Regions from separate parts of the Homo sapiens genome. Here region 2 is linked to region 1. Evidence: promoter capture Hi-C in 16 types of primary human blood cells and fetal thymus (Javierre and others, 2016). All regions are on one chromosome and are shown on one strand. The core of a region is centred on a gene start or on the middle of the fragment in contact, and the rest is flanking DNA. Distances in the headings are between cores, read along the strand shown. Region 1 holds the start of ALLC (allantoicase). Region 2 overlaps TRAPPC12 (trafficking protein particle complex subunit 12).

The links. The method cuts DNA at HindIII sites, captures the fragments that hold promoters and counts their contacts. A CHiCAGO score of 5 or more calls a contact.
Region 2: a fragment that was not itself captured here is called in contact with the fragment with the promoter of ALLC in region 1 in 3 of 17 cell types (activated CD4 T cells, total CD8 T cells and naive CD8 T cells); the score reaches 7.7 in activated CD4 T cells.

What each region holds. Positions count from the first base shown.
Region 1 is chr2:3,656,101-3,659,841 of GRCh38, reverse strand. It overlaps ALLC (allantoicase), which reads right to left and starts at 1,642. Exons shown (of 12, transcript NM_018436.4): 1 at 1,548-1,642. The HindIII fragment of the contact is 6,896 bases long and covers 1-3,741 here.
Region 2 is chr2:3,441,106-3,444,846 of GRCh38, reverse strand. TRAPPC12 (trafficking protein particle complex subunit 12) reads right to left here. Exons shown (of 12, transcript NM_016030.6): 6 at 956-1,068. Among named protein-coding and RNA genes, the nearest start is that of TRAPPC12-AS1, 40 kb to the left of the region's middle. The HindIII fragment of the contact is 2,353 bases long and covers 663-3,015 here.

The DNA of each region.
Region 1 (3,741 bases), core at 393-2,892:
AAATCCCAGAAGTATCCACAGTGGCCTGTGCTGTGCAGGGCCCCGTGGAGGTTCCCGAGAGATTCCAGGCAGCCAAGAGCTGGCGGTATAAGGGGCCGTTCTCAGCCCTGGTGGAGGTCACAGCTCCACGACTCTTGCGCCATGAGCTTGCTGAGCTCTCTGCTCACTGGTCCCTGCCGTTTCTGTTGATAAAATAGCCAAGGTCTAGGCAAGAAAGGAAGGAGCCACGCGACCTCGGCTGAGGCCACCAGCTCAGCAGCTCACAGTGCTCAGACAGCCTGTGGCAGCTGCTTCTAAGCTCATTGCTGCAACCCCTCCCACTGCCTGCTCAAGGGAGCTCTTAAATACATTTTCTGCTGTGGCTGAGACCAGACCCAGGGTCAGCTCTGATGTTTGAGGAACATGCTAAAGTTTTACCTGCAAATTTCAACTTAATCACCGCAAATGAGGAGCATTGTCATGGGTTACGGCAAGGCGATGAGGCAATGACTCTCTAAAATAGAGTCATGAAATTTCAGGCAGTCAAGTGGTGCTCACACTATTTTTTCTTTTGAGATTAGCCTTAAAATAAGAAAAGGCATGACCAGGCAAGTCTAGGAAGCACAAGAAAGAGAGACCTCCCTCTGACAAGCAGGGAAGGCTGTGCTGATGGAAGAGTTACTCCCTCGTAAAGAAGAAAACCTTCAGGGGCTTTGTCATCGCTGTCAATAAGTTCCGAAGAAGCCTTTGGCCAAAAGTATGAGATTTATGGTGAAATAATAAAAGTGGTTTGTTCAAATTTGGGACAAAATTAGAGTGACCTTGAGCAGGGACTCTGAGCAGCCCAAGGTCAACTGCACGAGACTCCTGACTACCGGCAACTCTTGGTATATATTTACATTTAGTTCTACTTTGTGACTCTTGTTTTGAATATAGGTTTACTTCACCATGGCCTTAGTTGTTTAGGTTTTTTTTTTTTTTTTTTTGAGACAGGGTCTCACTCTGTCATCCAGGCTGGAGTACAGTGGCATGATCTTGGCTCATTGCAACCTCCACCCCAATCCCATCCCGGGCTCAAGCAATTCTCCCATGTCAGCCTCCCAAGTAGCTGGGACCACAGGCACGCACCACCATGCCTGGCTATTTTTTTGATTTTTGGTAGAAATGGGGTCTTGCCATGTTGTTCAGGCTGGTCTCAAACTCCTCAACTCAAGCAATCCACCCACCTCGGCCTCCCAAAGTACAGGGATTACAGGCATGAGCCACCATGCCCAGCCTCTTTAGATTTTTTTTTAAGAAGGCCAAAGTCACATGATTTGAAACCAAACAGAGCAGTGACCAGAGCCCAGAAGCCTGACCCACCTGTGGGGCCCCTCCAGGTGTTTGGGCCACGCCCGGTACCAACACAGTTCAACGGCACAAAGTGGTGTCTGTCACCATCTACCCTCTGTCACCTTCCAAGTGTCGAGGGTTCGTTGCATGACTGAAATTCATCTCTGTCACCCTATTCTTTTGGCAAAGCCCACCTTAAAGATAGCAAGGTATTTATAAACCACACTCCAGCTCACCCAGCAGTCAGAAATCAAGTATTCATAAATGGATCTCTTGCTCCCCAGAAGCCAGCCAAGGTCCCACGGTGCTTGAGTGCCAGCTCAGAGAGAATGTATAGGGGCCTGAGGTAGAGACAGAACTTTGCAGAGATTGGCTGTGCCTGTATGATGTCACAAGGGTTGCAGAGAGGTGGAAGTAACAGGGGGAGCAGCCCCTCCCCGGAGAAGCCAAGCAGGCCTCTGCAAGACCCTCGCACAAGGCCCGAAGCCAGACATGGTCCCTGCTGGTCCCAGGGCCCTTCCCTGTCCCTAACAAAGCTGCCTCCGGCCACTGGCCTGGGCCTGAAACCCCCACCTTCCTGGTCCGGCCAGTAACCTGACTTAAAGTTTTATCTCTAGACGTCACCTATTCACTAATCATCATTAACTCAGAAAACACTGAGCACACCCAGCAGTGGGTCCTGACCTACTAGAGAAGACAGGGGCCCTTGGGAGGGTTTGGCTAGAGCCCCTCAGCCCCAGAAAAAGTAAATACACACAAAATTTTCATGGAATTTAAAGAAGCCCACAGATGCTTAAGAAAGGGCACCTTGCCAAGTGGATGCTAGGCCTGTGGCATACAAAACAACACGTGCCGCCTGCCTTCAAAGGCCCCACTGTCTGCAGAAGAACTTTCCATGCAGAAAGAAACAGCTGAGCCCGGCTTCGACATGCAGTAACAGACGTTGCCTTGCTTCACCACAGCCACCCTGCGGGGCAAGCTATCCACTCTGCAGATGAATCAGCTGGGGCCTTGAAGGCAGGAAAGCCACCCGAGGTCACCTGCGCAGGGAGGGACTGAGCTGGAACCAGAACCCAGCACAGCAGATGGCGCGCACAGGGGCCCTTGGGGCTCCAGAAAGACAACCTGCGTCCCAGGGAGATCCATCACCCACACGCTCCTTTTTCCTTCCTGGGTTTTCTTTCCCCAGGGCCTGACCGGCCTTCTCCTCCTGAACTCCAGCTTTCCCAGAGGAAAGCAAAGCCATTTGAAAGGCCGGCTCAAGGCCACCTCCAACTGAGAACCCCACCCCCAACCCCAGCCCGTCTCTCAGCCCCGCCACCCAGCCGTAGTTAGGATGCGTCCAGCGCCTGTTGTCTGATCTCAGCTCGCCCGGCCTTTGAGTCCATGTTTACACATCTGTCTGCCCATCCAGATGAAATTCTTTAAGAACGAAACCACATCCTATGCTGCCTTCCATAGCTGACTGTATTTTAATGAATTAATGCACGTGGCTTCGTCCCTGGCAGTTCTTGTCAGCCGTGACTTCCCCGCCACAGCAGTGCAGTGCCCCCGCTCGCCGCCTCGGATCAGTCACAAAGCTCACGGTGCGGAGAACAGAAGGGCCTATTTTTATCCTCGTGGTTTCGCTAAGCCTAGGCTGTGGCACCGATAAAGCCATGGAAGAAGGCACCCTGACCCCTGCCCTCCACACCCTGACCTCTGCCCTCCACACCCTGACCCCTGCCCTCCACACCCTGACCTCTGCCCTCCACACCGAGCTGGCTCCTACAATCTAATGTGCTTCCAAATCACCTACGAGCTGGTTAAAGTGCAGATTCTGACGCTGCAGATTTGAGATACGGCCTGAGGCTTGAGATTTCTCCAAGCTCCAGGGCGATGCTGGGGCTGCTGGGCCATGGCCAGAGGTTGAGCACAGGGCTCTGCCAGCTAGCTGCCCCATCCGACGTGGCAGCCACTAGCTATGCTAAATTCAATACTTCTCTAACGCTAAAATCAACTTAATTTAGTGAAGTTAAAAGTTTGGATGCTCTGTCTTATGAGGTAAGTTTCTAGTGCCCAACAGCCACATGCGGCAGAGGCGACAGGCTGGGCTGCACAGCTACAGAACTTTCCATCGTGGCACAGCAGACGTCCTGTGGACCCATCTGTGGGGCGGGAGGAGAACAAGAGCTGGCAGAGAGGTGGTCCCAGAGCAGTGGCCTGAGCCAGACGTGAGGCTGTTCTCGGAGCTCCGTAGGGGCTTCAACCCTCCTGCCTTGGTCCTGCCAAGACATGAGGATTCTCATGGAAAGGGCTGGAGCACCCTCAGAATAATGCCGCCATCCCCGGCCTCCCTGGGCTCCCAGGAGGCAAGGAGATCAGCCTGCGATGATGGAGGTGCTGGCTGCCTGGACGGGCTCCTCCCGACCCCTGCGCAGCCCCTGGCTG
Region 2 (3,741 bases), core at 590-3,089, 220 kb after region 1:
GGAAGTGGGTACAAAGCCCAGGACAACAAGGGGCCTAGAAACGCCTGTTTTTTCTCCACAGATAAGGATAAAGAGGGCCCCTTCCTTCCTTACTAGGAACACTGTTAACACCATCATCTTGGAACTCCGCAAAACTTCTACCACAACAGTTAGGAAGTGAAAGGAGGAATCTGACAAGAAGAATCTTAGTTTTCCCAAAAATTATAATATGCTGCTGCTCCTAATAACTGCTTGTTGTTGTAGTTTTCAAAGTACTTCCGCATACCTTATGTCACTGAACCTATACAGGAACACTGTGACGTGGGTAGAAAGGCAGGATCATTCCTAATCTGAGATGAATACTCTATAACAACCTGTAGACAGCAAAGTCTCTGAGTCCCACATTTCTTCCCAATGTCAGTTAGTGTAATAACGTGCCACTTTGGTGGCTCCCACATTAACTGTGACTTCACAACCAAGAATGAGTCCGAAAACACTCCGACTCTGCCTTTGCAGTCAGGATCATGAGTGACAGTTGCCATAATGCAGAAGCACTTACTTGGATTTGAAAGCTTAAACCATGATTGCTTTCAGTACTGCTCCGGTACCTCTGTCTGCACGTGGCAGGTGCGTGTGGGCACTTGTGGGACACAGGGGTGGTCTGGCACACTGACCTTGAAGCTTCAGCTGGCAGCCTTGGCAAGAAAGATGTCTCTGCCTTTCAGCTTCCCATAGTACCAGGCAGTAAGAATTACAGGACTCAAGCTCTGCTAGAAACTCTTACCATCCCTAAAAAAGATTTCAGCAAGAGACACGACTACCAGGCCACACAAACCGGGTCACCTAGCCTTCTGAAGGCAGAAGCAGCGATGGTGCATGGGGCAGGACGGGCAGGGAACAGCACGGGCATGTCCTGTGGGGAGGGCGTGGAGGGCATGTTCTCCCCGTGGCAGGGAAGAATGACAGCGCCACCTACCTTGCTGCAGACAGTCTTCACCTTGTGCAGTCTATCCAGCGACTCCTGTGGGTTCCCCAGGTACTGCTGAAGCTCCGCGTGCAAGATGCGCATCGAGAAGGGGACCATGGAGCCTGGAATCCAATCAGTGCTGAGTGAGTTTGTTTGCCATAACTGAGCACGCATTCATACTTGGCACACTTGAAGGAGGCGTCGCAGATGTCCCAGCAGAAGTGATGACAGATCCCTTTATTTCTTGTGAAGTATTTAACGGTGTCAACTATAAAATACATGCTGGTTTTCTCTATGGAGCTCTATGTATGTATGTCTCGACAATTATCAGAGGAGACAGGTGGATGACACCACAATTTCCAAAGCTACACTGCAATCATTTAGAAATGATCCCAAAATGAATGAAACAGTAGAGACCGCCAACCCCTCCTCCAATAAAAGAAAAACCAGAATGCTCAGATATTCTTTAATATTTCTTTAGTTTAGCAAGCTCGAATGGTAGGTTGCTTAGCTTGGGTTCCCCAGAAGGAGACCCTGAAGGGAGAAGCCGTAAGCCAGCCAGTGGTTCCGGAAGTGCTCCCGGGAAAACCAGTGGGGAGGAGGCGAAACTGAGCACAGGTGCGTCTCAGGCCTCGGCCCTGGGGATGGGCCTCCCACTGGATTCCATGTGGCCCTGGAGCCTGCGTTCCACCTCTGACAGGAGGCAAGGGAGCTGGACTTGAAAAATCCATCACCCAGAGCTGCCTGGCTTTGCGTGCGCTAAGAAGAGGAAGAAGCTCAGGAGAAACCCCCTTTATATCGTATCACCTGTGGCTGCATCATCTCTCAGGGTAAGGTCAACTTTTTGTTAATATTGTGTTCTCTTCTAATAGGATTTGGAATTTGATCTGTAGTATGTATACTAAGTAGATAACAATCATCAAAAAATCAAATAGCGTGCACTGATTATAAATGAGATAAAGAATAGAGAAATGCCAGAGGGCAATCACATAGATTCAGTAAAGTGCTTTTCAAAATAGGCCTAAGCGATGAATATTCGGATCTGGAATATAGTCTGAAAGATGGTGAGAAAACACGCGTATGACTTCTGCAAGCCACTTAATGTATCTGTGCCTCAATGCATCCATCTGTCTATTCATTAACCATTACTGAGAATGGGCCGTGACCACACTGAAATGAGCTTTATGTTTATGGTCTTTAATAACAAAGGTCCAAAAAGAAGACAGTCAAAATTAAGGAACACTATGGAAAACAGTTCTATTGTGATTATAAGCCTGGAGAAAAGAAAGGTAACAATTATTGAACTTAAAATGTTTAAACTTTCTTTTTTGATGCCACTAAATAATTTCTGTATCTCAAGAGAATATCTGGCCGAGCTTAAGTTACAGCCTGAGTCACTTCGGTTTTCTAGAAATAAACATTTCTAGACCATCCGCATAATGACACAGGGGACTGGCCTACAATTAAGTCATATGTAAGTCATGTCACTGTGGAACCGGCCCAACATGGTAAGTTATATGTAAGCCACGTCACTTCCATCCTTCTGTCTCAAGTAGAGAAGGGGCCAGAATCACTCCTGTGTGGTTTATCACTTACCACAAGGGAGAGAATATCTCAAGAACCCTTCAAGCTCTATAAGATAAGCACAGAAACAAACCTCTACTGGAAGTTCTCAAACCCAACTTGGGACTAGCTGTTAATACTCCGATCTCAGTTTACAGACTAGCTGTTAATACTCCGATCTCAACGTACAGACTAGCTGTTAATACTCCGATCTCAACGTACAGACTAGCTGTTAATACTCCGATCTCAATTTATAGACTAGCTGTTAATACTCCGATCTGGAATACAGTTTGGTGGATGGTGAGAAAACAGGCTGTGTGACTCCTGCCACTTCACCTGAGAAGGTGGCAGAAAGTTAGCTGCCCCTTATCCTGACAACTGCCCATGGACATGGGGGTGCTTCTGGATGTAAAAGCACATGTGAAAATATTTTGAACTAAGTGAAAATAAAAATACAACTTATCAAAATTTGTGGGATGCAGCAAAAGCAGTGCTGAGAGGAAGCTTTTTAGCATTAAATGCATATATTGGAAAAGAAAGATCTGAAACCAGCTTCACCTTTGAAAACTAGAAGGAAAGAAAGAGCAATATAAGCCTAAAGTAAGCAGTAGAGAAGAAAATAATAAAAATATTATTTTATTATAAGAAAATAAAATATTTTATTATAAGAAAATAATAAAAATATTATTGTATTATAATAAGAAAATAATAAAAATATAATAATAAAAATTAGAGCAGAAATCAGTGAAACTGAAAACAGGAAATCAATAGACAAAATCAACCAAACCAAAAACATATTCTTTGACAAGACCAATAAAACTCTGACAAGACCAATAAGTCTCTCCCCAGGCTAGTCAAAAAACAGAGAAGACATAAACAACTAGTACTAGAAGTGAAGGACTATTACTATGGATCCTATGAACAGTAAAAGAATAGTAAAGGAATATTATGAACAGCTCTATGTCCATACATTTGGTAACTTGGATAGAAAAAGAAAAACCTTTCCAAAAAGCAAGCCCCAGACCCAGATGGTCTCACTGTGAATTCCACCTAACATTTATGGAAGAAATGCTACCAGTTCTCTACAATCTCTTTCAGAAAACAGAAGCAGAGGAACGCTTTCTAACTTCTTATATGAGTCTGGCATTACCCTAATACCAAAACCAGACAAAGACGTTACAAGAAAAAAAAACTGTAGACCAATATGTCTCATGAACATAAATGCAAAAATC